6 separate regions of the Homo sapiens genome follow, and regions 2, 3, 4, 5 and 6 are each linked to region 1. The links are contacts of gene promoters, found by promoter capture Hi-C in blood cells and fetal thymus (Javierre and others, 2016). All regions are on one chromosome and are shown on one strand. The core of a region is centred on a gene start or on the middle of the fragment in contact, and the rest is flanking DNA. Distances in the headings are between cores, read along the strand shown.

Region 1 (5,106 bases), core at 978-3,477:
CAGCCCTGGCGACAGACTGAGACTCCGTTTCAAAAAAAAAAAAAAAAAAAGAATTCACCCTAGATTCCTCTGTCCTGTGACTTTCTGTTATTCAACCCAGGATTTTCTTTCCTCTTAATCTCAGGTTGCAGAGTTGCTACCTATTTAATGTTCCACAATCTTGAGCAGGTTGCAATTTTTTTTTTTAGATGGAGTCTCGCTGTGTCGCCTAGGCTGGAGTGCAGTAGTGCCACCTCGGCTCACTGCACCCTCCGCCTCCTGGGTTCAAGCAATTCTCCCAGCAGGTTGCAATTTAATGATTAGGAACAATCTGCATATAGGGCCTGGGAAGTGAGTAAGGAAATTTTACCCCTGTTGGAAGACAGACTTGTGAAACAACTGGGGTATTTAATCCCAGTCCCTGAGACTGAAAGGCTTCCAGAAAAGCAAGTAACACTAAATCAAGAAGACAGTCTAAATTCAGCCCCGCACAGTGGCTCATGCCTGTAATCCCAGCACTTTGGGAAGCCGAGGTGGGTGGATCACCTGAGGTCAGGAGTTCGAGACAAGCCTGACCATCATGGAGGAACCCCATCTCTACTAAAAATACAAAATTAGCCAGGCGTGGTGGTACATGCCTGTAATCCCAGCTACTCGGGAGGCTGAGGCAGGAGAATTGCTTGAACCCGGGAGGCAGAGGTTGCAGTAAGCAGAGATCATACCACTGCACTCCAGCCTAGGCAACAAGAGTGAAACTCCGTCTCAAAAAAAACAAAGAAGAAAAAGAAAAAAAAAAAGACATTCTAAATTCATACCCTGGGGTCATTTTAACAAATGCAGCAAAAATAGGAGAGGCTTATTGAAAGAAAACTGTGCTAATAATTCATTTGGCCAGACAGAAGGGAACGGCCAGGAATGCTCACAAATATAGTGACAGTAATGGTGTCATTCTGAGGCCTTCGCCTCAAGGCAGGGCTTGAAAGGGGATAAAGTCTAATGGCACTAGCTGGCATTTCAAATTCTAGATGCCTGAGGCAGACTGGCACCGAAACAGCTCCTCGTTTCTCTCAAAGTGAACATATAATTCATAGAGGGTTAACAAAATAATATCGTGAAGTTTTTCCCCTTTAAATCTCTAGCGGTGGCGGGGCGCGGTGGCTCACGCCTGTAATCCCAGCACTTTGGGAGGCCGAGGTGGGAGGATCCCTTGAGGTCAAGAGTCCGAGACCAGCCTGGGCAACATCGTGAAACCCTGTCTCTACAAAAAATTAGCTGGGTGTGGTGGCACAGGCCTGTAGTCCCAGCTGCTCCGGAGGGTGAAGTGGGAGGATCGCTTGAGCCTGGGAGTTGGAGGTTGCAGTGAGCCGTGATAGTGCCACTGCACTCCAGCTTGGGCAACAGCCAGACTGTCTCAAAAAAAAAAAAAAAAAAAAAAAAAAAAAAAAAAAAGGCCGGGCCTAGTGGGTCACGCCTGTAATCCCAGCACTTTGGGAGGCCGAGGCGGGCGTATCACGAGGTCAAGAGATCGAGACTATCCTGGCCAACATGCTGAAACCCCATCTCTACTAAAAATACAAAAATTAGCTGGGCGTGGTGGTGTGTGCCTCTAGTCCCAGCTACTGGGGAGGCTGAGGCAGGAGAATTTCTTTTTTTTTTTTTTTTTTTGAGACGGAGTCTCGCTCTGTCGCCCAGGCTGGAGTGCAGTGGCAGGATCTTGGTTCACTGCAAGCTCCGCCCCCTGGGTTCAGGCCATTCTCCTGCCTCAGCCTCCCGAGTAGCTGGGACTACAGGCGCCTGCAACCACACCCGGCTAATTTTTTGTATTTTTAGTAGAGACGGAGTTTCACCGTGTTAGCCAGGATGGTCTCGATCGATCTCCTGACCTTGTGATCCGCCCGCCTCGGCCTCCCAAAGTGCTGGGATTACAGGCGTGAGCCACTGCGCCCGGCTAGGAGAATTTCTTGAACCCGGGAGGCGGAGGTTGCAGTAAGCCGAGATCACACCACTGCACTCCAGCCTGGGTTACAGAGCGAGACTCCGTCTCCAAAAAAGAAAAAAAGAAAAAAGAAAAAAAGGCGCAAAGGCTCCGTTCAGGCCCTAGATCCCGCGATACAAACTTTCTCGGCCCGCCCCAGCCCGCTGTGGCGGGAACATTCTGGAAGTGACGGCAATCTCTGCGGCAGTCTTCTGTCGGAAGTGACGTTGCTATCCCAGAATCCTCAGAGAAGGAGTAGCGCGTTCGTGCGTCCTAGTTCCAGTACAGCGTGGAGGGTTTAGGCAGCGTGTTCTGATTCTTTGCGGGACGGCGAGCGCATTTGTGCTTTGCCCGCCGCGGCCTAGGAGGCCTTTTGAGGCCGCGTAGTCGGTGTTTTTGAACTGACTCTACAGCTTCTGGCAGGCCGTGCGGCGCCCTGACCCGGCCTCACCATGTTGGTGCTGTTTGAAACGTCTGTGGGTTACGCCATCTTTAAGGTAGGTGGGAGAGCGAGCCGTTAAAGGGGGAAGGCGGATGCTGGACAGACGAGGAGAGGGAAAGACTTAAGCACGGAACTACTCAGAGTAGCGTGGGTGCCTGTTATAGCCCGGGCTCTGGGAGGAGGGAGAAGGCCTTTACACCTGAGAGCCATGTTACGTGTAACACGTGGCCCCGCCGTTTGGGGAGACCCGTTCTGCATTAGAGGATTTTATTTCCTCCCGTTGAAGGGGTGGGCAGGAGGCGTGTTAGAATTTAACAGATTATAGGGAATTCGGACTTTATTCTAGATGTTTTGAGGAATGATCGAAAGATTTTTTTTTTTTTTGAGATGGAGTTTCGCTCTTGTTGCCCATGCTGGAGTGCAGTGGCGCAATCTTGGCTCACTGCAACCTCCGTCTCCCGGGTTCAAGCGATTCTCCTGCCTTGGCCTCCCGAGTAGCTGGGATTACAGGCCTCCATCCACCACCACGCCTGGCTAGTTGTTTTTGTTTGTTTGTTTGCTTTTAGTAGAGACGGGGTTTCACCATGTTGGCCAGGCTGGTCTTGAACTCCTGACCTCAAGCGATCCACCTGCCTCGGCCTCCCAAAGTGCTGGGATTACAGGCGTGAGCCACCGTGCTCGGCCAATCGAAAGGATTTAAGCAGAGGAATGACCTGCTAATTTGTCTTAATACGGTTACTCTGCTGTGTGGAGATTAGACTCGAGGAGATAAGAACGGCAGCAAGAATACTTTTGCATTCATTTGGACAAGATGAAATTGCCTGGTATGGAGAGAAACAAATATCGATAGAAATTGTGAAGGTAGAACAGGAAGGACTGGCTAATAGATTGAATGTGGGGTTTTGGTTTAAATAAGATGTTAAGAAAGTTTCTTGGGGAAGGACTAAAGATTTCCGGTTTGGGCTGTGCGAAGCTTGCGTTGTCTATTAGACCTGATAATGCAGTTGTGTAGATCGGGCAGTTCAGTATTTCAGATTTGAAGCTTAGGGGAAAACATCTGGGCTGGTGATGTCAGTTTGAGGTTTGGTTGTTTTCGTGGGGAAAGTTTGACAAGTTCGTCAGCACTGAAATGGTTGAATGGTAAGACATTCGTATCGCAAGATGCTGTTGAGATGTTAGGAAGAATGAGTGAGATTGAGTGCCTTTTCTTGTGCGGTGCAACTCTTCTGAGGTCTGTGAATATAGCAATGAAAAATAAAGTTTTTATGTATATTCTACATATATATATGTTGGTAGAAAGCAAAAACGCTAGGTAAAAATAAATGTAATACAATTTTAGCTATGAACCAAAAAACCATTTGTGGTGTGGATGCAAGAAAGTCTGGATGGGTGCAGAGTTCTCCATGTTTCACTTCTGACATTTGAAAATACGCAGTTTGCATTTGATACGTCAAATGTTATTTTTAAGAAAACCAATAAAATCATTAAAACCGAAAAGGCAGTTTTGCTTGTTTTTACCTTAGTTGGAGTTATCTGCAATTGCCGTATTAGTGTTTTAAGGAACTTGTAAGTAAGCTCCTTAGTCCCCTTTAGAGCTACGAAACATGTCAATTTTACTTTTCTCCAGCTTTTTGGAATCTTATCTAAATTACCATGTAGAGTTCTGCATAGCTTCAAATTCTCTTAGCCAATGTGGTCTGTAAGTGTCTATCGATGAATTTCACCGTTAATTGCCGTAGTATACTGTCCTGTACCGGATGTGAAGAGGAGCAACTCTGCACAGTGCACTGGTTGTCTCCCATGGTAGGAAGGAATTGGCTTATCAATGGTCGGATTTCTAGACCTGGGTCCTAAAATACTCAACCGTGTCTCGATGAATTACTGATTTCTATTAATGAAAAGTGTCCTCCTCCATGAAAATGTCTTTGAGTATTCCGTTGGAGTTTGCAGTGCTATTTATCTGCAAGTTACTGTTCAAAATGATTAAATTGTGGTTTATGTAACCTAGTACTAAAGAAATAACTAGTTAAGCTCGAATATGTTGACATTGATTAGTTTGTAATTATTGGAATTAACATTGATCGTTTCTGAGTATAAAAGACATACAAACGTTCTGGAACTAGTGATGGCTGCACATTTTTGTGAAAATGCACTACTAAAAAGTGAATTGTACACTTTAAAAGGGCAAATATTAAGATACATGTAAAATTAATATGATATATGGTGAATTTTATCTCCTAAAAAAGTAGACATACGGTTCAAAGTTATTAGTTTCCTTTCCCATAATCTTTCAAAATGCTAGGGTATAAAATTATGTTGGTTGCCAGGCATGGTGGCTCATGCCTGTAATCCCAGCACTTTGGGAGGCCGAGGCCGGCGGATCACAAGGTCAGGAGTTTGAGACCAGCCTAACCAACATGGTGAAACCCCGTCTCTACTAAAAAAATAGAAAAATTAGCTGGGCGTGGTGGTGTGCGCCTGTAATCTCAGCTACTTGGGAGGCTGAGGCGGGAGCATTGCTTGAACCCGGGAGGCGGAGGTTGTGGTGAGCTGAGATCGTGCCATTGCACTCCAGCCTGGGCAATAAGAGCACAACTCCGTCTCAAAAAAAAAAATTATATTGGATGCATATAATTCATGCTTTGATGAGAATGCTTTAGGAAGTTTTTTGAAGTTTTTTGTTTTTTTGTTTTTTTTGAGACGGAGTTTC
Region 2 (5,106 bases), core at 1,434-3,933, 1.8 Mb before region 1:
TTATGATCTTCAGTATTCACATATCTTTTTAACCATGATAAGTCTGAGGGAGCCTCTAGACTGCAGAGATCAGTGGACAGCATGGAATTGAGCTGCTAGGCTCTTCCCCTCACCAGCTCTAGGATCTTGGGCAAATTACTTATCTTCCTCTTCCATAAAATGGAGGCAGTGATGATGCCCAGCTCAAAGGACTATAAGAGGAATAATTAAAAGAATATATAAAACAGCAAAAGAGCAGAATCTAGCTCATGGTAACTATTCAATAAATTATAAATATTATGCATAATGATATAAATTTAACCATAAGGTGTCTACTGAGGGACTTGATATTGACTCTGGAAATGTAAGGAAATAAAGGAGCAGGAATTATTAACAATGATAACTATAATTCTTAAGTTAGGTAACTAAGGAATATATAATTTATCAACTGAGATTATAATTCTTCTTTTAATTTTTTTAAATTTTTAAAAAATGAGACAGGGTCTCGCTGTGTTGCCCAGGCTAGTCTTGAACTCCTGGGCTCAAGCAATCCTCCTGTCTTGGCCTTCCGAAGTGCTGAGTATACAGGCATGAGCCACCACGCCCAGCCTGAGATCAGAATTCTATGTAGACCAGTAGCCAGGCCAGTCTAGAACTACAAATAACACCTCCAAATCATCCAGCTTCTTCACTGTGAAATGGATGAAGCTTTAGGGAAGTTTTGGGGGGTTTTTGTTTGTTTGCTTGTTTGTTTTTTGAGATGGAGTCTCGCTCTGTAGCCCAGGGTGGAGTACAGTGGCGCCATCTCGGCTCACTCCCGGGTTCAAGCAATTCTCCTGCCTCAGCCTCCTGAGTAGCTGGGACCACAGGTATACACCATCATGCCGGGCTAATTCTTGTAATTTTAGTAGAGACGGCGTTTCACCATATTGGGCAGTCTGGTCTCCAACTCCTGACCTCAGGTGATCCACCCACCTCGGCCTCCCAAAGTGCTGAGATTACAGGCGTGAGCCACTGCACCAGGCCCAGGGAAGGTTTAAGGGTTGGATTTTTTTAATCCATTCTGGAGATCACAGAACCACAAGTGACACTGTGGTGTTTTCCCACCTAAAACAATACTGTGATGAAAAAGGTACTCCCAATTATTGAGAATCTGCAGTATCCACACATTTCATAGCAAGTTGAAAATGGCTGCCAAAAGGCTCAACTACATCCATGTCAATTCACTTTTACTCAGTGAACAACTAAGATCGTTTTGTAGATGCCAGCTAGTCTCCAATAAAATGGAAGGAGACCATTAAAATCTGAGGAAGACCATGTGTGTAGAATACGGTCAGCAACAGAAACCATTATGGGCCAAAGGTCCAGCCTTCCAAAACCACTTATGGATGTGACATCTCGCACTGCCTAGAAGTCCTGGGAGCAGCACTCCAAAGATCCATGTGTGAGAGCCACCTCTGAGGCATGGGATGGAACTTGTTCCCTCTGCCTCATTACTGGCTCCCTGGAATCCTATCTATTCTTCAAGGCCTTCAGCAAACCTAATTTCTTGCATGACCGTCCCACGTATCCTTCTGCCCCCCAAGTTAGAATCCTTGCACAATTCTACAAATATACTGTGTGTCTGTCCACTTTTTACCCCACTTGTTTAATCCCTACTTTTTGGTCTGTAGGCCAAGGAAGCCAGGGCCTGTGTCACTCTTAATAACTCCCATTTACTGAATGCTTATTATGTGCCAGCCATTGTAAGAGACACTTGACACACTTTACCTAATTCACACAAAAACTCTATTGGATGGGAATTACTGTCCCTGTTGACAGATGAGGCCATTGGGGTAAAAAAAAAGAGTGATGTGTACAGGGGCCACACAAGGACTGACTGCTAGTAGGTTGTGGAGCCAGCCCCAATCCAGAACGGCAGGACGAACCCCAAGTTCTTCCTGCTTCACCCCACACCGCCTCCTCCAGCACTGTTTCACCCCTATGGATCCTGACCCAGCCCTTTCACTCTCTAAGCATCTGTCCATCTCAAGACTTGGCTACGATAACACAGCAGCACCCCGATCCCGAGGATTTAAGAGCTACTCCTCCTACCCCAACCCCAGGCAGTCTCTCCTAAGGATAGGAACATCATCATTCCAAGGCCACACCAGGGGGGCACTCCGCAGGCCCCATCCTCAAAAGCACCCAGTTAGGCTCCCTGCTATGTGGAAAGTGTCCAGCCCTCGGGGACAATGTCCCCCAGAGTGCATTCCTATGATCACCTGCATCAAAACCATCAGGGACGCTTGGGAAAACGAAGACACTCCGGCCACAGCACACAGTTCCTCAGAAAGTCTGAGGAGGGGTCGGGATCTGCCCGCGAACCCCACTTTGAAAAACATCGCTCAAGGGGCTCACACTCCTCTTCCGAAGCGGGAAGAGCCGGGAGGAGCTGGGGAGCCAGAAAGCCCCGCCACGGTCTTCCGCGGCCTGGAGACCCCAAATCGGCCCGAAGCCCGAGCCTGCAGCCCGGGGCGCGCGCGTTACCAGCGCGGCCCGTGCCCTTCCTCAGGGCGCCCCGCCGCCTTCCGGGCCCGCGGCCCATCCCGCGCCCGGCTCTTCCGCACCGGGGGGGTGGGGCGGGTCGGCAGCTTCCCAGACTGACCTGCGGCCCGCCAGACCCTCGGCGCGGCCGCCGGACGCCGCGGGGCGGACGCGGAAGTGAACGCCTTCTCAGCTGCTCGGCAACTCGGGAGCAGAGCGGCCCCAGCGGCGCCCCCGTGCGGCCCGGCTCTGAGGCAGCGGCTCAGGGAGGGAGGGAGGCCACGTCCCGGGCACGCCACGCCACGCCACGCCCCGCCCCCAGATTCGTCTCGCCCCAGTGGGCCGCCTCGGAGTCGGGTGGGTCTTCCATCCCGGAGGTAAGGGAAACACACGGTAGAGAAGGCCAGGGCTGAACCCCAAGGGACGGTCTTGTGTGTTCAGAGGCTGGTTTTACAGGTGAAGAGAAGAAACAGCCGCAGAAGTTGCGATTGTCCAAGGTCACTTAATAAGTGGCAAGAATTAGGATGTTAAGTGTTCTCACCCCCAGGTCAGTGCCCATCCCTCCAAACAGGGCTGCTCAGTGCCAACGTGTGTTAATATATTGCACTTGGATAAGTCTATCTGGATAGTGTCTGCAGCTTACAAAGCTTTTTCACACACAGCATTCTTGTTTAGTCTGTGTGACAGTGATATAAAGGGTGATATTTATTTCCCATTATAGCAAGGAAAATTGAGGCGAGAGCAAACATTTATTCAACACTTTTGTACACCTGACACTGTGCTAAGTGCTTTGCATGCACTACTTAATTTCCTGTTAACGATAACCCTAAAACAGTTCTTCCAGTTTCTAGCACCATCTTACCTTGTGCAAGGTACTGTGCTAGATATTTCAAGAGAAATATAACAGTCCTGTTTTCAAGGTGCTTCCCCAAAATCAAAAATATTTGGTTCCAAATTTCCCTGACTGGCTCTTAGAAGAGAATAAGCCAAAGAGAGGTAAGTCAACCTATCCCCTTAGATATTAACAGTCTTAGGAGAGAGGGAAGGTTTGTTCAACCTGTAATTATTAAGCACTAGCTATGGAGCAAGCACTGAGAGTAAAGGACTGGAAGAGACAAATAATGGGCGTTCAACCTTACTTTCCAGTACAACATGCAGAAAACTTGTTCTGTAAATATTTTAGGCTTTGTGGGCCATGCACAACTACTCAACTCAGCAGTTGTAGTCTAAAAGAAGGCATAGGCAAAACCTGAACAAATGAGCATTGCTAGTTCCAACTTTATGGACACTGAAATTCCAATTTCACATAATTTTCATGTGTCAAAAAATATTCTTTTAAAAATGCAGCTTTTTCAAACACTTAAATATGTACAAGCCATTCTTAGATCATGGGCCAGACAAAAACAAATGGTGGTCCATGGGCCATAGTTTGCCTGCCCTTGTTCAAGTGGGAGAAACAGACACTAAGCAAAGTGGTGACAGAGAGTGATAACTAGGTGCGAGGAAATGAGTGGACATTTAAGTTGAGGGCTAGGAGTCAGAATGAGTCCACCTTCTGCAGAGATGGAGGAAGGGTATTTTAGGAAGAAGGGAGAGCAAGTCGGAAGCCCCTCAGGCAGGAAAGGACTCAGCAATTTGTAGGAAGAGAAAGGCCACTAGTATGTCTGAGCCTTGGTGGGCATCAGGACAAAGGGGAAGATGAGATGGGATGAGGTTGAAGAGAGAGGCAAGAGCCCAGACTCTAAAGTATTGTGTGGCCATGGTAGAAATTTAATTTGACTGTAAGCATAATGAGAAGCTATTGAAAGGTTTTAAGCAGGGAAGTGACACAATTGATTTACTATTAAAAAAAAATAATCACTGCAGCTACTGAGATGAGAATGGATTGGAAAGGTGTGAGATGGAAGTAGATGACTATTGCAATAATCCAGGGGAGAAATGTCTTAGTTCCTCCTTGAGTAGTGTTGGCAATAAAGAGAAGTGGATGGATGCAAGAGGGGTACTCAGGAGATAGACATGACATAAAATTTGTTGGTGGATCAAATACAATGTGTTAATATGGATCCCCTGAGAAGCAAACAATATTATCAGATTAGACATGTGAGAGATTTATTGAAGGGAACACCTGTGAGGTAATAACAGGGAAGCATCTGAGGGGAATTAGGAAAGACATTAGACAGTTTCAACCCTTGTGGAGAACAGGAAAGGAAAAGTAGGAAAAGTTGTAGATATGATACAGTTCTGAGAAAGTTTCAGCACAGCCAGTGGAAAGCCTTCAAGCCAAAGTCCCCCATATCAGAAGAGTTCTGTGTCTCCCAGGAATGGGCCTGCCTTAAATCCCTCTGCTCAGTCACTGGCTGGGAGCAGTCAGTGGGCAGTGCAGCCTGGTGATAAATTTCAAAGGACAGCAGCTGAGGCATCAGTCAACAATGCTCCCTGCAATTGGAGATCTGAGAAGTGCATTTTCATGGCTGCAATATATGGGATTTAAGGGAAAGGGAAAAATGTAGGAATATCTCTAAATTGTTAATTTGAACAATGGGATAATAGTGAGTTTACCGAGTCAGTGAATTATGGGAGAGGAATAGGTTTGAGGGAAGA
Region 3 (5,106 bases), core at 1,712-4,211, 1.5 Mb before region 1:
GTTCTTCGTGGCATTTAGGTATTGAAAAATGTGAGTTGAATTCAAAGCACAGGTATAGAGAACTAACAGAGAATTTCATTTCAGCACTTACTATAACTAGTCACCTAGTGCTAAGGATCTCTGTGCTGGGCAAGCCTTATTGTATAAAGTTCTCTGATGCTAAAGCCTTCTATACTGGTTAAGTTCTGGAAAATGAAACTGCTTTTTTAAAGAAAACTAATTTTATCCCAGAAAGATCTGGGAAATCTTCCAAGACTGCTTTTTAAGAGTAGGACCTGAAATGTATCATTAGAAAAAAGGTTCCACTTTTTCTTATCAGATAAATTGACATTAAGTTTACTTAATGGTAGTCCATGGCCTTGTTCTGGAAGACTAATAATCATCAATTCTATCTATAGTTAGCTTGCTTTGAAAGCAAGGCAGCCTTACTTTCTCACAAAGTTTCTGTGAAGAATTATAAAATGCATGTGAAAATATTTTGTAAACAGTAACATCCTCTATAAATTTAAGGTCTACTGTGACCACTCTATTACTACTAATAGTAGTACATACCAAGTAATAGCAGTAGTACTACTAATAATAGCAATAAGGCAGTGATTAAGTTCTATTTAGTTTAGTTGCTTTTTCATCTTAAATAAAAACTTTCCATCAGCTGGGCGCGGCAGCTCACACCTGTAATCCCAGCACTTTGGGAGGCTGAGGCCGGCGGATCACTTGAAGTCAGGAGTTTGAGACCAGCCTGGCCAACATGGTGAAACCCCGTCTCTACTAAAAATACAAAAATTAGCCAGGGGTGGTGGCACGCACCTGTAATCCCAGCTACTCAGGAGGCTGAGGCAGGAGAATCGCTTGCACCCGGGAGGCGGAGGTTGCAGTGAGTGAAGATCGCACCACTGCACTCCAGCCTGGGCAACAGAGAGAGACTCCGTCTCAAAAAAAAAAAAAAAAAAATTCCATCGCACTGAGGCTCCCAAAAAATGAAATGTAGGTTTTAAAAAAGACATCAAAGAAAGATGGCCATCTAAATATGCCAAGGAAACCGTTATGCATTGGAGATAATTTTCCAACACAGAGATGTTTGGATCTGGCGTCCTTAGTAACATTTCTTTTTTTTTTTTTTTGAGACGGAGTCTCACTCTGTCGCCCAGACTGGAGTGCAGTGGCGGGATCTCGGCTCACTGCAAGCTCTGCCTCCCGGGTTCACACCATTCTCCTGCCTCAGCCTCCTGAGTAGCTGGGACTACAGGCGCCCGCCACCACGCCCGGTTAATTTGTATTTTTAGTAGAGACGGGGTTTCACCGTGTTAGCCAGGATGGTCTCGATCTCCTGACCTCGTGATCCGCCCGCCTCGGCCTCCCAAAGTGCTGGGATTACAGGCGTGAGCCACCACGTCCGGCCTCTTAGTAACATTTCTTAATCTTCAGTTCTGCAGTAATATTCTAGGAGATATGAACTATTAATAATAAGCAGTAAACAGTTTTTTCTAAACAATCCTATAGCTAACATACCACATGCCATTACACTGTTCTCTTGTTGGTTTTTATTTTGCTTCGTTTTAATGAATGTCTTGAATGCTATATAACTTAGAATGCACATATTTAAATCACCCCAAATATCACTTATTTGGCAACTCACTTCAAACTATATTCTGAACAAGCACTTTACAGGAGCAAAGAGTTTTCACCTTAACCTGTCATTATTCTGATGTTAAGAGGGGAGAGAGAGAAACAGAAAATGCATGTATGCCAAATTTCTTGAATCCCTAAGCTTCCCAATTATTTCGGCCTATTCAAAAATCGAGTCCAGGTGTGGTGGCTCACGCCTATAAATCCCAACATTTTGAGAGGCAGAGGTGGGAGGATTGCTAAAGCCCATGAGTTGGAGGTCATTCTGGGCAACATAACCAGATCCTGTCTCTATTAAAAAAAAAAAAAAAACTAAAATCTAAATAATAGAGTGTGTTTGCTAAAAGAGGGTATTTATTTAACAAATATTACTAAAATGTTAATGTAACTAAGCAATGCTTTTTATCTTGATTATGTCAAATATTATTAATAATTATAACTATTAAAATAATTCTATGAAGAAGTAAAAGAAATGGTATATATGAGATATGTAGCAAGTGAATGATATTTAACACATTTTTTACCTAAAATGAAATTATTTAAAAGCTCATTGTACCTCAAAGCTTTTTCACTGTAAAAATTTTGTGGAGCCTATGAAAATACTTCTGGCCACACATACATACATAAATATATGCATACATATATAGGTGTGTGTAACTAGAAGTATTTCATATACATATGCTACAATATTTAAGCCAGGTTCATAGGATGTTCTATAAGCTTCTACAAGACTCAAAGCATAGGAATAAATACTTCCCCCAGCTCATTTTCCAAGGGCAACAATGTGCTTTTCAAAACAGGCCCTTGATATTCTTCTAGTTGTTAGGAATAAAAACCTATTGTCACTTGCTTTTAAAAAAGAAACACTTAGGTATCCATTCCCATCAATGAAGTTAAAAGCAGTAGCACATTCACATGTTGCACTTAGCACCTTTCTTTTTAAGTAGTTCAAAATTTTTAAATCCAAAAGTACTAAGGGGGATTCACAGCAATGGCAGAGTGAAGAAATCAGCATATCCTTTTTCCCAAAACAACCATAAAACTGGGCAAGGCTAGGCGTGATGATTCACACCTATAATCTCAGCACTTTGGGAGGCTGAGGCGGGAGGCTCACCTAAGGCCAGGAGTTTGAGACCAGCCTGGGCCACAAAGCAAAACCCCATCATCACCAAAAAAAAAAAAAAAAAATTAGCAGACTCAGTGGCTCATGCCTGTAGCCCAATTACAAAGAAGGAATGTGTTCACATCCATGACTAAGAAAGGCTTATGGGAAAAAAGCAGTAGTTGAGATAAGGCTTGAAACAATAGTGGGATTTTGACAGTGGAAAATGAGGGAAGGACATCTCAAGAAAGGTCAAGACAAGATGTGTCCTGTCTGACCAAAGCATAGAGTTCAATTGTTTGGAACCTTTTCCTACCATAATACAATTCACAAACAACGTTTCCCCTGCTAGCTGCACGGTGCCTATTCCCATGGGTGCACCCAAAAGCAGAGAAAAGATAAGTGGCAAGGTGTGGTCTGTAATCCCAACACTTCAGGAGGCCAAGGTGGGAGGATTATTTGAGGCCAGGAGTTCAGGAAAACCTTTAATCCACTTTACATTTTAAAGAAAATAATCTGCTTACTTTAATATCATTTTTAGTCAAAAATCATTTGCTACATACCCCACAATGATGGTAATAACAGGTTAAGAACCACAAATGTGATGGGAAGTAAAGGTGAAAAACATTGGTCAGAGCTATCCCTGAGTATAAACAGAGGCATTTAAACAGTGAAGAGAAATGATTCAGCTTGCAGTTGAGAAGATTGCTCTGGAAATGTTGAGAAAGGGGATAGTACAGTTAGGAAGTTATTGCAAAAGTCCCATTTAGTTAGGGGTAATAGATGCCTAAATCAAGATGGTACTGGGGAAAGATGATACAATTTTAAAACGTGGCAAAAATAGAAGATAAGCTTTGTGAGGCCATAGGCGTAACATGTCACTATCTCTACTGGTCTCTAGCTGAATAAATATTTGTTGAATGAATAAATAAGATCTTGGTGGTAAGGCGGTGCATTATAATGGTGAAGCCAGACTGCTTGGGTTCAACTGGACCTCTTCCACTTACTAGCGCTATGATCTTAGACAAGTTACCTGACCTCGATGCCTCGGCTTTTCCATCTGTAAAATGGGACTAATAATAGTGTCTAGATTACAGGGTAGTTTTCAGGATGAAATGGGGTTACTACATAAAGTGCATAGAAGAGGGCCTGATACATATAGGGACATATTAGTTATCATTTTTATTTGTGAAACGTTGTCCTTTAACAGAACTTCAGATGTGAAAAATACAGTTCTGGGGGAAGAGCAATTGACAGCACTGACAGTGTTAAATTAGCCATGAAGTGAAGATGCCAGATAGTGTGGACTGGGGCCTTGGGAGAAAGGAAGGGGCTAGACACTTAGAGATCAGACTCCAGCCACTTCCCTCTGCTCCCCACAGCCCTCCCAATCACACTAGCTTCTTGCAGTTCCTCCAACAGATGCAGTTTGTTTCCTGCCTCCTTCCCACTGCTGTTGCCTCAACTTGGAAGGGCATAGAGCCTGGATTTAACAAATATTTGCTTAATGATTCAGTAGATGATCTTGGAACTCTTTTAAGTGGAGTAAATGTTAAATCCTTGAGAATGTATGAGACTGCCATAGAAGAAAGTATCCAGAAAGAAAAGGTATCAGTACAGAAAAGAAGAGTCAGAAAATACCGTGCAAAGGCACATTCAGAACGTAACCAGGATAGCTGGAGCCAGGATTCAAGGAGAGAGGTAGGTAACATTCAATGCTCAGAGGAGGCAAACAGGGTGAAGAATAAAACACTGGGTTTGGCAATAATTTCAGGAACGAACGCTGAGAAAGTCATTTTTCCATGAAGTTGCGGGGGGGTGGGGTAGAGGTCAGATAGTTAATTAGGGAAAAGAAGTCAACAAACTATTTTATCAAAAGGTTTAGGGAAGAGAAGCCACTCTCCTCCTACCAGAGAGTGAGGAAGCAACTGGAGAGAAGTAAACTACTGTACAGTGAATAAAAACATGGGGCTACATCCTAGAGGCGCTGTGCATCTTTATCTGCACAGAGTTTTGTCACGTCCACAGTGCTTTTCACACGCACTATCTAATCTGATCGTACCCCAGCTCCCTGATGATATAGCCTCTAACTGAGGGGTTCTCAAGGTGCGGACCAGCAGCAGCATCACAGATAACTTGTTGGAAATGCACATTCATGGGTTCCACACCAGGCCTACAGAATGAGAAACTACGGGTGGGGCCCAGCAGTCTGTTATAACAAGTCCTCCAAGGGATTCTGATGCTCTCCAAGTCCCCATAGCCACCACACTCGGGAGACAACCGCTGCAGCGCGCAGGGACCGCGGTTGGAGGACAGAATTTCCCCTTCTCAATCTTCGGCCTGTGTCCTCTTCGCTCTTAAGGGAGGTAGTGAACAAT
Region 4 (5,106 bases), core at 1,533-4,032, 1.4 Mb before region 1:
GAAACCCAAGTGCTAAATACTTGGATTTTGGCTCGAAAGTTGCTGTTATTTCACTTTCCAGAGGATGCTTTTTGAGAATAAATAGTATATTTAAAAATAGTGCCAAATCCATTTGTAGCATTCCTCTTTTTATAGTCCTTTTAGTTCCTTAGCTTCCTCACCTGAGAATAGAGATAGTACTTGCTTACCTCTCACTGTTGTCTGAAGACCCAGGTGAGATTATTTTACCTAGCACTGTTGCAATACAGCCTAGAGCTGCACCATTAGTACTATTCAGTGGTTTGTGAGTTTGTGCAGCCATGTCCAAAGGAATAACGGTGCCCCCTTCAGCAGCACATATACTAAAAATTGGATGATATAGATTAGCATGGCCCCTATGCAAAGATTACACGCAAATTTGTGCATTGTTCCGTATTTTGCGCAATTTACAAAGGTTGTTGAAAAAAAAAAACACAACAAAGGAATAATAACCATGCCTTGGGTTAGCTATGCAATATCAAAGAATGACCTGTTTGCTTATATTAAAACATGTTTTTTTTAAAATGCAGTAAGAACAATTCATATACTGGTGATGAGACCAGGAGTGAAATCTGTATTATGTTTAGGATTCTTGGTACAAATTATAATAGTAAAATGAAAGGGAATTGTAAAGTATTGGTCTCTTGTTTCCTCTGTTTTGAAGAGTCTCAAGTCAAAGTCGTGGCCCTGTGTGCTGGTTCTGGGAGCAGCGTTCTGCAGGGTGTTGAGGCTGACCTTTACCTCACAGGTAGGACAGACTTTGGATCTCTCTTGGTTTATTTTTTGCAAAATCAAAAATGGCAAATTTTAGGACAGTACCTGGCACATAGATGATACCTAATTAATGTTTTCTGAACCTGAACTAAACAGAAACTACAACAGAACTGGGGACTTACTGCATTCTTTGTGGAGGGATGAAATCATTGAACAGTTTATTACATTATCTCAAAAGTTAATGGTCAGCATTTATTTTACCTACATTCTTCCTAAACTGTCCCAAACCTCTCAGATTTCACATCAGTGGGATACTTTCTACCCTGTCACCTTAGCTAGGAAATGGTTCCTTTTACTCAGCCTAAAGCCAATCATCAATTCCTATCAATTCAAGCTCCCAAATCTTTCTAGAATCTTCCCCCTTATCTCTATCCAGGCACCATCTCCTACTTGAAGTACAGCATCAACCCTCTAATGGTATCTTCCATATACTCTCCTGAAATTAACTTTTCAAAGTGCAAATTTGATGGTCTTGATTAAAAAGACTTCAGTGATTTCCTTCATCTGTCTGGTGGAGCCTGAACATTGCATCCCCTTTCCTGTACCCTTTGCTTATGCTGTTTTCTCTGGCTAGAATGCCTTTTCCTTGTACTCCTAGTGATAAGTGAACACCCCCTCTGAGAAGCCTTCTCTGACACTGTCCTGCTCCTGCCTCTTGTGGGTCCCTATCACTTTGTCCTTGACCTCCAATGTGCACTTCTGTTGGATAGTAATTGTCTGGCTGCTGGGCCTTATACTTTCTCATTTAGGATACTACCTAATAGGTCCTGGCTAATTTTTATTGAAAGAATTACTTTATGTAGTTACTACTCAGGAATATGGCCAAACATGGCCCCTTACACCTCCAAAGGATTTGGAGGCATTTTAAGGGGTTGCCACTTTGTTTACCTCCTCCTTCTTAGGGTTAGGAGAGAATGAGTTAAAGAATTACTTTTCCCACTTTGAGGACCAGGCTCTAGGCTCTTAGCCCTCTGGCCATTCCTTTGGCTACTTCCATGCTTCCCTTGCCTCCCACACCCACACTTTGTTATATAGCACACTCTCTTACAAAGGCTGCTGCACTCAAAGCATTGTCACATCCTGAAGTACCGAGGAGCAGCATCTGAGCAAGCCTGATGGAATTGCTCTAAACCAATAAATTGATTTAAAAAAACAAAACATGTATGTGACTATTACTTATTTTATATTTTCTGAAGATAAAAGATTTTTGTAAGCCCTTAAATTTCTACCAGATTAAAGTGAAATTTCAATATGAATATCTTACAGTATTGTGTCTGGCTATTTTAAAATTCATTTTAGCATTTTACTTAGGAATTTCAGACCTATGCAAAAGTTGCAAGAATAGTATACTGAACTCCTATATGCTCTTCACCTTGGTTACTATGGTTATATTCTGCCATATTTGTACATTCCCTATGTGCATATTATATATGTGTCTATACACATTTGTGTTTGCATGTATAGATACATAATATATACAAGTTAAAATATGTTCTATATATATATTGATGTATTTCCCCTAGGACCATTTTGTAATCAATTGCAGACATGACAATTTCTTTACCTCTCAATACTTCAGTGTATAGTCTAAGAACAAAGACATTCTAAGTCCATGGAACAATTATCAAACATGGGAATTTAATATTGTTAAAACACTTACTTGATATACAGTCCATATTCACATTTTCCCAATTGATAAAAGCTTATAGCATTTCTTTTTCTGATCCATATCCAGCCAATGATCTCACATTGCATTTAGTTGTTGTTAGTCTCCTTCAGTCTGGAATAGTTTCTCAGCTTTGTCTCCATAGCATTGACATTTTTAAAGAGTATAGGCTCTTTGTTTTGTGCTTCTCTCTCAATTTGGGGTATCTGTTTCCTTATACTTTTTTAAAAACTAGTTTTTTAAAACAATGATAAAGTATAATGATACGTGCATAAGATAAATTCAAGCAGTTCCAAAATGTTAAAATGTCCTTCCTATCTGGCTGTGGGGAGAAATAGAAAATATATTATCCGGCTAGCATTAGCTGTCTCTGGTCTGTGAGGCATCACTTTTGAGTATAACTTCAGAGATGTGAAGCCCCACCTAAAGGACCTCTGCTGAACTTCATCACGCTTCCTGTGAGCCTGAGGCCGTGTTCTCATTGTATTAGGTTGTTAAGGGTAATACCCCGTAAGACCAGCAGATGGGGAGCCTGCTCCTTGTAAATTAAGTTCTCCCATTTGTCTTTTCATTCTCCATTTGCTTATTCTTTCCCAAGCTGCCATCCTGGGCCAAGCTTTTCTTTCCATTGGCTTCAGCTATTATTGCAGGGTCTTCACTGATTTCCCCCCTTTCATGCCTTCTCCAGCCAATGAATTTGTCACAGTACAGGCAGCCAGACTTACCTTTCCTAAAACAAGGCTTCCAACTGGGCCATCTTAGTGTCTTTTTCTTGCTTTTTACTTCTACTATTATAGATTAAGATGTTTTAAAAGGTGCTTGAATAAAAACTGTTCCTTATAATGAGATGACACTTATTAGGAGGAGATTGTGGGGAACTAAAAAATTCTGGAATTAAGAAAACTCATTTTTTTACTTATAGGTGTTTTCTTATGGGAAAATTAAAAGAGAACTCATTTTTTTCCAAGAACCCTTTTTTCTTAAATTTATATGCCCTTCTGTCTCTAAATACAGTTCAAAATTGTACTTTTTAAAGAACAAACCTAATTGTACACAGTACAGTTTTGCTCTTAAATTAGAAGTCATCAAATTCACAAACTGCATTTTAAGAAATTCAGAATATTAGGCTGGACATGGTGGCTCACGCCTGTAATCCCAGCACTTTGGGAGGCTGAGGCGGGCAGATCACTTGAGCCCAGCAGTTCGAGACCAGCCTGGCCAACGTGGTGAAACCCCATCTCTACTAAAAATACAAAAATTAGCCAGGCATGGTGGTGGGTGCCTGTCATTCCAGCTACTCGAGAGGCTGAGGCAGGAGAATCACTTGAACCCAGGAGGCAGAGGTTGCAGTGAGCTGAGATCGTGCTACTGTACTCCAGCCTGGGTGACAGAGCAAAACTCCATCTAAAAAAAAATTAACAATATAAATTAAAAATTCAGAATATGAATTTTCCCCAAATCTTTTCACAACAGATGAGATTCCCTCCAGAGTTTCTAGGGATTTTGCTTAAGTCAAAGAAAAATACTTTGTTTTTAACCTGGAAGTAATCTTAAATTCATTTCATCCTTATATATTAGACTAAGTTGACGACAGAAATACTGGTGCTTACAAAGCATAAGTCTGCTGGGCAGTATACATATAATTTCCTCCAGAGGTATTTATTACTTACATAAGAGGCAAATTTTCTGAAGGCCTCATTTTACTTGGCAGTGATCATTCATTTTACCGTGGAAACACTTTGAATGGGTGTTTACAGATCTGGTTCTGGCCAGATATGTTGGATTGGATAATTGCCTTGGGGTCTGCTAAGGAAAAAGAAGTTGGAATTCTCAGTGGGATGGATTTTATTTTTATATTTTCAAGATAGTCTTACTCTGTCACCCAGGCTGAAGTGCAGTGGTGCAGTCTCGGCTCACTGCAACCTCCAGGCCCTGGACTGAAGCTATTCACCTGTCTCAGCCTCCTGAGTAGCTGGGATTACAGGCACGCACCACCACGCCCAGCTAATTTTTGTGTTTTTAGTAGAGATGGAAGTTTCACCATGTTGGCCAGGCTAGTCTAGCACTCCTTAGCTCAGGTGATCTGCCTGCCTAGGCCTCCCAAAGTGCTGGGATTACAGGCGTGAGCCACCGCGCCCAGACTTTTCTCTCTTTTTAAGTTGGAGGACATAAAAGAAAACTGTACACTACTTTCTAGATTTATATGTAAAACAGTTCTGCTCTATTACATTCACTTCATATAGACTACAAACTTGGTATTTCTGCTTTTGTGTTTCCTCATTCCACAGATTCCATATTTAGCATTTAAGAATTTGCTCTTCCCTTTTTGGTAGGTGAGATGTCCCATCATGATACTTTGGATGCTGCTTCCCAAGGAATAAATGTCATCCTCTGTGAACACAGCAACACTGAACGAGGCTTTCTTTCTGACCTTCGAGATATGCTGGATTCTCACTTGGAGAATAAGATAAATATTATCCTATCAGAGACTGACAGGGACCCTCTTCAGGTGGTATAATTGCAGAAACATCAGGATAACACATTCTACAAATCAGCTGGATGCCAACTTAAATTTGTAACATGAGTCAGTGGGACTGGTGTGCTTCCAGAGAGTGTCTTCGAGGGTATCATCATTTCCGGTTTGTTAA
Region 5 (5,106 bases), core at 1,496-3,995, 1.1 Mb before region 1:
TGACTCAGTTTTGTAGGTTCCTTATCTCGGTTGTTTACCGCGGGCTTTGCGGAATGCCCCCGCTTCCGTTTCCGCCCGGCTCCGAACCCCCGAACCCCTTCTACCCGCAACTCCGCCCCGGATTCCCAGAAAGGGGCGACCTGGGCCACAGCGGTACAAGCTGCACCCCGATGGACCTGAGAGACCGGAAGTAACCCTTGGCCAACTCTGGCCGCCCCCTGCAGCCGCAGCCCCAGAGGCCCACCCGCGAGCTTCAGTGGCGGGCCCTCAGCGTCGTGTAAACTTTGCTTAAAATGATCTTGAGAGTTCAATTCTTGGGGTGAACTGTTGAGAAGATCTGGCATTTTTCCTTTCGAAAGTTGTTGGGAACGTGGACTTTCCCAACAATTGTGTATGCGCTCGATCTCACTCAGTGGGAGCCGCCGCCCTGGAGGGAATTTCACAATAGCCTGGTCAGGGCGGTTATTTTCCAGAGCAGTTTAATGTCTATTTTGCCCAAGTGCAAGGAAAGCTTGCCTTGGGAAAGCTGGGAATGCTTGGCTAATGAAAAGTTTTTAGAGCCTTTTAAAATGAACCTGTTTCTGCCACTTTTCCACCGCCTCAAAACGACTGGGAAATGTAAACTGGCTTCAAGATGTTCTTGCTTGAGGGTGTCTGGATTTGGACAGAAGGCCATGTTCTTTTAATATTAACAGTGGCACGCAGTAGAACAAAGGCCACTGAAATTCAGAATCAGTTTTTGGCTCCACGGGCAGGAAGTAAATTCAAGGACGCCAGAGGTCTTGCGAATATTTTAATTGGTTGACATTTGAAATTTGTTCTTAAGCAATGAGGGGTGAAACCAGTAGGGGGATAGCGTATAGCATAAGTAAAGCTTTTTGGACATCAACAAACTGCGATAATCTACAACAGACAGCGGGCTCTGGAAGGTTTGACCTGCTTTAGAGAGAGATTTCCGATAAGAGGAACGGAGTTTTTGGCACTTTTCGGTTTGGTGATTCCCCTAAATAACCTTACAAAAGTTTCGTTGAACAAAAAACCTGGCTGGAGCTCCAAGATCTTTTTTTTTTTTTTTTTTTTTTGAGACAGCATTTCACTCTTGTTGCCCAGGCTGGAATGCAATGGCACTATCTCTGCTCACCGCAACCTCCGCCTGTCGGGTTCAAGCGATTCTCGTGCCTCAGCCTCTCAAGTAGCTGAGATTACAGGCATGCACCACCATGCCCGGCTAGTTTTGTATTTTTAATAGAGACGGGGTTTCTCCATGTTGGTCAGTCTGGTCTCGAACTCCTGACCTTAGGTGATCCGCCCGCCTCGGCATCCCAAAGTGCTGGGATTACAGGCGTGAGCCACCATGCCCGGCCCAACTCCAAGATCTAAACAAAAAAGACTGGGTTGAAAGGGAGTTTTTAATGTTTACTGTTTGCTTTACATCCATTTTCTTGTTTTGTTAATACTTGCTTTACTTAAGCTTTTGGGTCAAATGTCCTCGTTAAAATGGCTTTCTCTAGCGACTTTATGTTTTACGTTTCTGTTTGTAACTGACATTTGACCTTCTTTTAACACGGTATTACTTGCTTCCTTATACCGGTTTCCAAGGTGAAGCCATTTGCAGGGTCGCTGGGTTTCCCCCTCCCCCCGAAAGTCTTGCGCGACCCGGGGTGGGCCGGATAGTGTGCAGTTTTTTGAGCCTTGGGCTGGGGACCTCCAGGAAGCTGAAGCGGAAATTGCCTAGGCCCCTGGGGCATTGGAGGTCCTACCGCAGCTCCTAGTAGGTGGTGGGGGCGCAGCGGCTGTCCCCACTCAGTCCTGGTGGGGTCGCACGTAACGGTCCTGAGCTATGCATAAGCCGTTTGACCACGCATGGAGAATTTTACCACCCAGAGACACGCGAGTGGCCCTGTGCAAGTTTCAACTGCGCGGGGGGCGGGGAATTCCGCAGACAGGATTCTAGAATTTATGTCTTGTGTGGTAACATTTCAGCCGGTGGGTGGCGGGGATTAGGCGTGAAGCGGTTCAGCAGGCAGAGGTTCTCGGACGCCCTCCGGCGAAGCCACCTGTTGATGCTTTTGACTTTCTGTCCTTGTTCCTCGTCCCATCTGGAGCATTTCCAATTCTGGTTTTGCGGAGCAGCAGGTCTGAGCTTGTCCGGCGAGGGTGGGAGTTGGTCCCGGCGGAGATCCAGTGGGAAGAGCCGGCGGCTGCCCGGGCGTGAGTAGACCGAGAATCCTGCCCGATCCCCGCCCCTGGGCTGGTGTCGCCCTGGGCTCCTGGGACGTCGGGGCACTGTCCCCCGATACTGGCAGAAAAGGATTGAGTCCTCGCTTTTGGCCCTAGGTCTCCTTGAGCCTCCAGAGGACTCACAACACTCCGGGGCATGTTGCTCTTTCAAATACCAGGAATGGACTCTGGGGAATGGGGCACCCTTGAAGTCTGATTATTTCTTCCCTGTAGAGCCCCAGGGGCTAATTAAACTCGTGTTTATGGACTCCAATGCCTCCTTGCCTTTAATTCAGTATAATCCTACCAACATTTATTGAGCTTCTCTGGGCCAGGCAGAGTTCTGGGTGCCGAGGACATAGAAATGGATCTAAACTTGGTTCTTGTCCCCATAACCTCACAATGTGGTTGAGGAAGACTCAGCAGTTACCTACACAGGTAACTTCGAGTCAAGGCAGTTTAGACAAGATCCACTGACAGCCTGACTGGAGGAAGCCTGTGGGCCATGGTGGGGCAGTTATGACACCATGGGTTCTTTTTGTTTATTTGTTTGTTTGTTTTGTCTTTTCTTTTAGTATGCCCAGGTAACTTGCAGAACCCGGTCGTTCTTTCTTACTATAGATCAGTGAGGTGAAAAGCACTATCATTATTGGAATGCCCTGTCTCTCCCTTATACTCTCTTCCTGTCATCTCCCCTCAGAAGACTTGACACCCCACCCTGGTGCCCTTTCTCTGTACTTTCATATGCTCAGCGGCTGTCTTTGCACTTGCTTCAGGATTGTACCTAACATTCTGTACTGTAATGCATTTTCTTCAGACACTCTTCAGTCAAGTTGTATTATAATTATGAGTTAAAATACATGCAAAGTAAATAGAGAAAACCTCCAGGGGTTCATTCCGTAGAGATAACCAAAGGTTTCAGTTTAATGTTTTTTTTTTTTTTTTCACACATGTGCGCTCTCAAATACAGTCTTTTACATATTTTTAAAAATAAACACTCAATTTTTTTGGTTTATTTTCTAGTTTGCAAGATATTTCATTTTTTAAAATTGTGTTTATTTACAACCTGCTTTTTTCTAAAAAAGATTCAAGGTGGGGCCTTCTTTTCTTTTCTTTTTTTTTTTTTTTTTTTGAGATGAGGTCTTGCTTGTTGCCCAGGCTGGAGTGCAGTGGTGATCATATCTCACTTCAGCCTCTAACTCTAGGCTCAAGCAGTCATCTCACATCAGCCTCTGGAGTAGCTGGAACTACAGGTGTGTGCCACCACACCCAGCTACATTTTTTTTTTTTTTTGAGACAGAGTCTCACTCTGTCACCCAGGCTGGAGTGCAGTGGTGCTATCTCTGCTCACTGCAGCCTCTGCCTCCTGGGTTCAAGTGATTCTCCTGTGAAAATTGCTTCCTTTTCTACACTTGTTCTGTATTTATGTTCCTCTGATGGTCTCCACTTCTAGCCACTTTCTTTTTTTGGCGATTTAAGTTTTTGGCCCAAATAGATAAACATCTTCTACATTATTTTTCTCTTATTCTCGATACTGGGTTGCCATCTTTGGTGATTTAGTACTTATTATGAAAGAGAGAAGCTACACCACTTGATACCACTTTCATCTGCATACTCATGATAATTTGTATCTTCTGCAGTGAACTCTTAAGTTGAAGAAATGAATAATTTATATGTATATTTGTATACTTTTAAAAATGTAATTGAAAAATCCTCTCATAGTTACTTAACTCCAAGGTTTAAAAATGCTTCCCAGGGTAATGAGTTTCTTTAGTCATGTGACTTTAGAAATGGGAACCAAAGCTTCCTTATCTACTTGTGAAATTCTTGAGTTTTTTCCTTGAACTTCCTTTTTATCTTCCCTTTGGCTTATATATCTGTGTTTTTTGTTTGTTTTTACTTGCAGCTTTCAAAAGTAGTTTTCAAAGTCAATGAGATTGTTTAAAAGAGTAGGTACCTGACAGTCTCTTGCTTGAATACTATCTAGTGAGTGAACCAAATTCCCTGCAACAATAACCACAACTTTGAATCAAGAGTTAAATGAAAAAAGTAACTCCTTCAGCATTTACTGAGCACCTGCTGGGGCTGAGGAATGGGGGCATGTAGATCTCCCTCTGCTGTCTGGAGCTCCCTTTCTGGTTGGAAAACATAGAAGCAGCGCAAAAGTTTCACCCAAAACCTTGGCCATGGTATGCTATTGAAACCCCATAGTTCAGATTTTATACTTGAGTTCTTTTCTAAGCCATGGCTGGATTATGTTAATCTGGCAAATAATTATAAAGCTGGATTATTTTAATCTGGTAAGTAATTATAAGGTTGTGCTCCGTGATGTAGCTATTAATAAAATATGTGGTAGCACAGACAAGTTGTATATAGCACAAAGCTATACCCCCAGAGGAGACACTATATCAGTTGCTGTCTGCCTAGGCTTTCTGTAAACGTGCTGGCTATCATTCAGCCTAAATGTAGAATGAGTCTATCCCTTTAACCTGGGCCATCACCAGGAATGTAAAGGAACCTAGAACGAGGACCCAGGCAAGAGATGAGAAACTAGGGGACAGATGAGTAGGTACCAGGGATGGTGATGAGACTGAAGCAAGTGGGGAATTTTTATTTTCTTCTCTACTTTTCTCTATTTTCCAGATTTTCTTAGAGCAAAAAGCAGGTAGTGCTTTTTACAGAAAATGAATGCTATATAAAAGTAATTTTAAGAACTTTATATATCCCTAGTGTTATGTACAATTTCTGACTTTGAATAGAGATATCTCCCAAAGGGCCAAGTTTGGCCCTTTAGTTACAATGGAGAATCTGTTGTGTAAACTGAGCAAATACACCTGCCAAGTTGAAATTTAATTTAAGCCAATCTTGTCTAGATGAACTTAAGAG
Region 6 (5,106 bases), core at 1,775-4,274, 1.0 Mb before region 1:
TATTTTTGGATAACAGCATGGTTTTTGTTTTTGTTTTTGTTTTTTTTTGAGACAGAGTCTCGCTCTGTCACCAGGCTGTAGTACAGTGGCATGAACTTGGCTCACTGCAACCTCTACCTCCCAAGTTCAAGCAATTCTCCTGCCTCAGCCTCCCGAGTAGCTGGGACTACAGGTGTGTGCCACCATGCCCAGCTAATTTTTGTATTTTTAGTAGAGACGGGCTTTCACCATGTTGGCCAGGATGGTCTGGATCACTTGACCTCGTGATCCACCAGTATGGTTGAGTTTTAAGAGTTCTTTGTACGCTTTTGGGTAACGGTCTTTTGTTTTGCAAACATTTTCTCCCAATCTGTGGTTTGTCTCTTCACTCTTAACTGTATCTTTTGAAGGGGGATCTCAAAGAACATCTGGTCCCCCACAACAACATGTCATGTCAGGTGAGAGATGACTCATTTTCTCAGAAACTAGGATTTTGTGTCATATGTTGTAAACCACGAAAAGTTAATTTTATAACCCACCTTCTAGATCTACTGAGAATACGTGGTGTTATCACTAACAGTTTTGAGGAAAGAAATAATTGCCTAATTCATTTTGTAGTGAATGTGTTTTGTTACTACCACAGATACTCTTAAAATCCACTTATTATGGAGGGGGAAAAAAAAGGAATTTTCTTTACAGAAAGTGAGGAGTGAAACCTAATGGAGAAAATATCTGTTTCAGGGAATAACCCTCCCAACATCTGATTTTTTTTTGTTTTAGACAGGGGCTCGCTCCGTCCCCCAGGCTGGAGTGCAGTGATGCAATCATAGCTCACTGCAGCCTTGAACTCCTGGGTTTAAGCAATCCTCCTGCCTCAGCCTCCTGAGTAGCTGGGACCACAGGTGTGCACCACCACTGCACCACCACACCCGACTAATTTTTTTGATTTTTGGTAAAGACAGTATGTTGCCCAGGCTGATCTTAAACTCCTGAGCTCAAGTGATCCTCCCACTTCAGCCTCTCAAAGTGCTAGGATTATAAATGTGAGCCACTGCACCTAGCCTGATCTTTTTTTTTTTTTTTTTTTTTTTTTTTTTTAAGAAACAGTCACTAGTGCTGTATGTAGGTTACAGTAGCTATGTAGGCCCTTCAGAGTCACTTCACTTTTCTGAGCTTTCGTTTCTTCAACGTCTTCCTGTCTGTAAGACACATGCTCTTCTACCCCTGAGACCAAAAAATGTTACCAGTGAGGATCTAATGATATAAAATAGGGAAAATGCTTTAAAACTGCACAGTGCTTAACAAATGCACTGTTATTATATCATTAAAAGTGACTCCTGGGTGGTGGGAATGGTTGCATAACGACGTGAATGTACTTGATGTCACTTAAAACTGGTTACAATGGTAAATTTTATGGTATATATATTTTACCACAATTAATACATTTTAAAAGATGGTTCTTGACAATTATTCTTAGCGTCTGAGGTGCCCCATTTCTTGGGTATGGGCATATAGTGCCTCAAGAATATTGGGGATCCTCACCTCTTCTATGCCCAAACCTTTAAGAAAATTCTGGGCCAGGCGCAGCGGCTCACAGCTGTAATCCACCACTTTGGGAAGCCGAGGTGGGTCGATCACCTAAGGTCGGGAGTTCGAGACCAGCCTGACCAACATGGAGAAAACCCGTCTCTACTAAAAATACAAAATTAGCTGGGTGTGGTGGCACACACCTGTAATCCCAGCTACTCGGGAGGCTGAGGCAGGAGAATCGCTTGAACCCAGGAGGCGGAGGTTGCGGTGAGCCGAGATTGCACCATTGCACTCCAGCCTGGGCAACAAGAGCAAAACTCCATCTCAAAAAAAAAAAAAAAATTCTGGAAAAGCTAGGTCAGTGACATGAATATTGGAATCAGAGTCTAACAAACTCAATTTCTTCCTTTCTAAATCCGTGGTACGGATTCATGTCTGCAGTAGTTTTTCTGAGAAAGCAGAAGGGGTAGGTATTGGCAATCAACAAGCTGCAGAGTATGCAGATTGAGGTCAGTAACTGTAAATGCCCCATGACTGTCTGATCATTTTAATACCAAAAGAAAAACTTAAAATCCCAGTTGCTAAAATCTTTGTCTTAGACAACTCTTTGAGCCTCTCCCTACAAGGCCCAGAAAGGAATGAGATAGATGTGAATGGAATCTGTTTTCCCTTCCCTTGCCACGCTCTGGAGGAGGAGTCTAGGGCAGTAGCCAAGGCCAGCTGCCAGTCAAGGAAAGGGGAGCGGCCCCGTTGAATCCACAAACCACACCATCCTGGCCCATGGGTTATATACAAACTCCCACATTGGCAACAAACAAAGGGCATGCACATTCAGGGGATTTTGCTTTCACTGTGAGTGTTTATCTTTGAAGGGTGTCACATCAAGATGAATGGGAAGGGTGTGTTGCAGTTGAGCTGAGGTTTGGTCTTTCTTGGCTTTTTTAGGGACACTTACAGGTCCAAATCTGCTTTCAGCCGGCTGGTGGACATGGTAGGAGACACAGTAGTCTCAGGACCAGGCCTCCAGGTGGGAGCTGAGATTCTAGAGGGTGGAAACCACTTGGAGATTGAGTCAAAGCAGACCTGTCCTCATTCTGTGCTGGGCAGGAGCCAGCTCTCCATGTCCCTGCAGCTCCAGCAACACCTCCGGATCTTTCAGCTTCCCTGGGACTAAGGACCATGCACATTATTAATTCTGATATAAACAGTCACACAGGCACATGTCTCAAGATGAGGGTGAGAAGTTGGTTACAGCAAATGAAGTAATAATGATCTTTGTGCTTCACAATAGGAATTCAACCAACCTGAGGTTTATAATTCACTTATTAACACTTTTTATTTTTGTTGAGACGGAGTGTCCCTCTGTCACTCACGCTGGAGTGCAATGGTGTCATCTCGGCTCACTGCAACCTCCGCCTCCTGGGCTCAAGTGAGTCTCGTGCCTTGAGTGGCTGAGACTACAGGCACATGCCACCATGCCCAACTAATTTTTTTGTATTTTTAGTAGAGATGGGGTTTTGCCATGTTGGCTAGGCTGGTCTCAAACTCCTGGCTTCAAGTGATCCGCCTACCTCAATCTCTTCAAGCGCTGGGATTACAGGGGTAAGCCACTGTGCCTGGCCATAATTCATTTATCAGTCATATATATATACACACACACTGGGAGAATCTAGGGTCAGTGCCTTACAAATGGCACAAGTTGAAGCCCTGAGACTCCCACTCCTACCCTGCTCCCCCCATTCTCAGTACTGCTCCTCAGATGCCTCCAGCAGATCATCCATTTCTGCTAGGCTGGGCCTGGGTACATGCAGGGAGATGTGTACAGGGGCTAAGAGCAGAAACTTTTGAGTGAGACACTCCTGAGTTCATGCACTGGCCCTGCCATTTGTCAGCTAATTGATGTTGCATTTAATTGCATCATCTGTATGTAAGCCTAATAATTTATAGCCATCTTAGAGATGTTGTGAGCTTAAATAACATAGTAGTGAATATTTATTTATTTGTTTATTTATTTATTTAGACAGGGCCTCGCTCTGTCACCTAGGCTGGAGTGCAGTGGTGTGATCATAGCTCACTGCAGCCTTGACCTCCCACACTCCAGTTATCCTCTCACCTCAGCCTCCTGAGTAGCTTGAGACAACAGATGCATGCCACCATAACTGACTAATTTTTTAAAATTTTCTGCAGAGACAGTGTCTCCCTATGTTGCCCAGGCTGGCCTCGATCTCTTGGGCTCAAGCGATCATCCTGCCTTGGTCTTCCAAAGTGCTGGGATTACTGGTGTGAGCCACTGCACCCACAGCCTATTTATTGAGAAATGTGGAAGGCCCAGGCACTATTCTAAGTGCTCCAGCTGTTTTATCTCCCACAGTTTTGCTCAGATAGGAGTTCCAAAGCTGGAGCTGGAAGACTCATATTTTTAGAAATGTTACAGTTAATTCTGAGGTGGGTCAGATTGAGATTCATGGCTATGCATTAATGTTTAGGTGGTGACTAACCACTCAGGGTTTTAGAGACAAACAGACCTTATTCTGTCACTCACTGACTGAGCGTGGCCAAGTCTTTCAGCCTCTCTAAGCCTCAGTGTCCTCATCCATAAAATGGGACCAATCGTAGCATCCACTTCTGAGAACTGTTCAGAAGTGGAAATGAGCTAGTTTAGGTGGCTGTGTCTGGCATACGCCAATGGTTTGATAAGTATTAGCTTGTGCCTTTATTAGGCCAACTCCTTTTTGTTAGGTGACTGAGAAACCAAGGACCTTCTGCCCTTTATGCACCAGTCACTATTAGTTTAAATTTGTTGCTCTTCCATCCACATGATTCATTCCAAATTTGAAGTGTTGGAGAAAGGGAGTTAGTATGTCATAGAAAAATCTCTGTTTTTGGCTCAGCAGGACTGAGTTTGACTCCATGTAACTGTCTGAGTCTTAGTTTCCTCATCCATAACATGGGAGAACAATACCCTGAATTAGAGAATTCTGCTGCCAGAATTAGAGATAGTTCATGTCAAGGTGCAACATATAGGTAATGTGTTATTGCTGGTGTTCTGGTTATAAAATGTACAAGATGTGAAAGCAAAAGGGCAGAAAACCCTTTTTAAAAATTCATGGCTGGGCGCGCTGCCTCATGCCTGTAATCCCAGCACTCTGCCAGGCCGAGGCGGGTGGATCACCTGAGGTCGTGAGTTTGAGACCAGCCTGACCAACATGGAGAAACCCTGTCTCTACTAAAAATACAAAATTAGCCGGGCATGGTGGCGCATGCCTGTAATCCCAGCTACCCAGGAGGCTGAGGCAGGAGAATCGCTTGAACCCGGGAGGCGGAGGTTGCTGTGAGCCGAGATGGCACCATTGCACTCCAGCCTGGGCAACAAGAGCGAAACTCCGTCCCCCGAACAAAAAATTCAAATGGGAAAGAGAGGCAGATGGCAGAGAACAGGGGAGGGGCTGGGCACCGTGGCTCATGCCTGTAATCCCAGCACTTTGGGAGGCCAAGGCGGGTGGATTTCTTGAGGTCAGGAGTTCAAGACCAGTCTGACCAACATGGTGAATCCCCATCTCTATTAAAAATACAAAAATTAGCCGGGGGTGGTGGTGG

Evidence for each region. The method cuts DNA at HindIII sites, captures the fragments that hold promoters and counts their contacts. A CHiCAGO score of 5 or more calls a contact.
Region 2: a contact is called between the fragment with the promoter of KCTD18 here and the fragment with the promoter of NOP58 in region 1, in 1 of 17 cell types (total B cells). The highest score is 5.0, in total B cells.
Region 3: a fragment that was not itself captured here is called in contact with the fragment with the promoter of NOP58 in region 1 in 2 of 17 cell types (total B cells and fetal thymus); the score reaches 8.0 in total B cells.
Region 4: a contact is called between a fragment that was not itself captured here and the fragment with the promoter of NOP58 in region 1, in 1 of 17 cell types (fetal thymus). The highest score is 6.8, in fetal thymus.
Region 5: a fragment that was not itself captured here is called in contact with the fragment with the promoter of NOP58 in region 1 in 1 of 17 cell types (fetal thymus); the score reaches 6.8 in fetal thymus.
Region 6: a fragment that was not itself captured here is called in contact with the fragment with the promoter of NOP58 in region 1 in 1 of 17 cell types (fetal thymus); the score reaches 5.4 in fetal thymus.

Annotation. Positions count from the first base shown.
Region 1 is chr2:202,263,536-202,268,641 of GRCh38, forward strand. NOP58 (NOP58 ribonucleoprotein) reads left to right here and starts at 2,228. Exons shown (of 15, transcript NM_015934.5): 1 at 2,228-2,451. The coding sequence starts at 2,407. The HindIII fragment of the contact is 14,423 bases long and covers 1-3,367 here.
Region 2 is chr2:200,507,385-200,512,490 of GRCh38, forward strand. It overlaps KCTD18 (potassium channel tetramerization domain containing 18), which reads right to left and starts at 2,684. Exons shown (of 7, transcript NM_152387.4): 1 at 2,244-2,684. RefSeq lists a silencer at 2,457-2,916. The HindIII fragment of the contact is 2,465 bases long and covers 686-3,150 here.
Region 3 is chr2:200,806,269-200,811,374 of GRCh38, forward strand. All of the region lies in intron 1 of BZW1-AS1 (BZW1 antisense RNA 1), which reads right to left. Among named protein-coding and RNA genes, the nearest start is that of BZW1, 3.1 kb to the right of the region's middle. RefSeq lists an enhancer at 4,856-5,106. The HindIII fragment of the contact is 1,234 bases long and covers 2,345-3,578 here.
Region 4 is chr2:200,898,703-200,903,808 of GRCh38, forward strand. NIF3L1 (NGG1 interacting factor 3 like 1) reads left to right here. Exons shown (of 7, transcript NM_001369441.2): 6 at 683-766; 7 at 4,792-5,106. The coding sequence ends at 4,976. It also overlaps the pseudogene RNU6-762P. Among named protein-coding and RNA genes, the nearest start is that of NIF3L1, 12 kb to the left of the region's middle. The HindIII fragment of the contact is 580 bases long and covers 2,493-3,072 here.
Region 5 is chr2:201,116,691-201,121,796 of GRCh38, forward strand. The region is part of intron 1 of CFLAR (CASP8 and FADD like apoptosis regulator); the gene reads left to right. Among named protein-coding and RNA genes, the nearest start is that of CFLAR, 3.1 kb to the left of the region's middle. RefSeq lists enhancers at 1,360-1,409, 1,758-2,261, 1,900-2,269 and a silencer at 3,378-3,437. The HindIII fragment of the contact is 2,552 bases long and covers 1,470-4,021 here.
Region 6 is chr2:201,252,247-201,257,352 of GRCh38, forward strand. It overlaps a transcript of CASP8 not described here. Among named protein-coding and RNA genes, the nearest start is that of CASP8, 5.7 kb to the right of the region's middle. The HindIII fragment of the contact is 6,710 bases long and covers 1-5,106 here.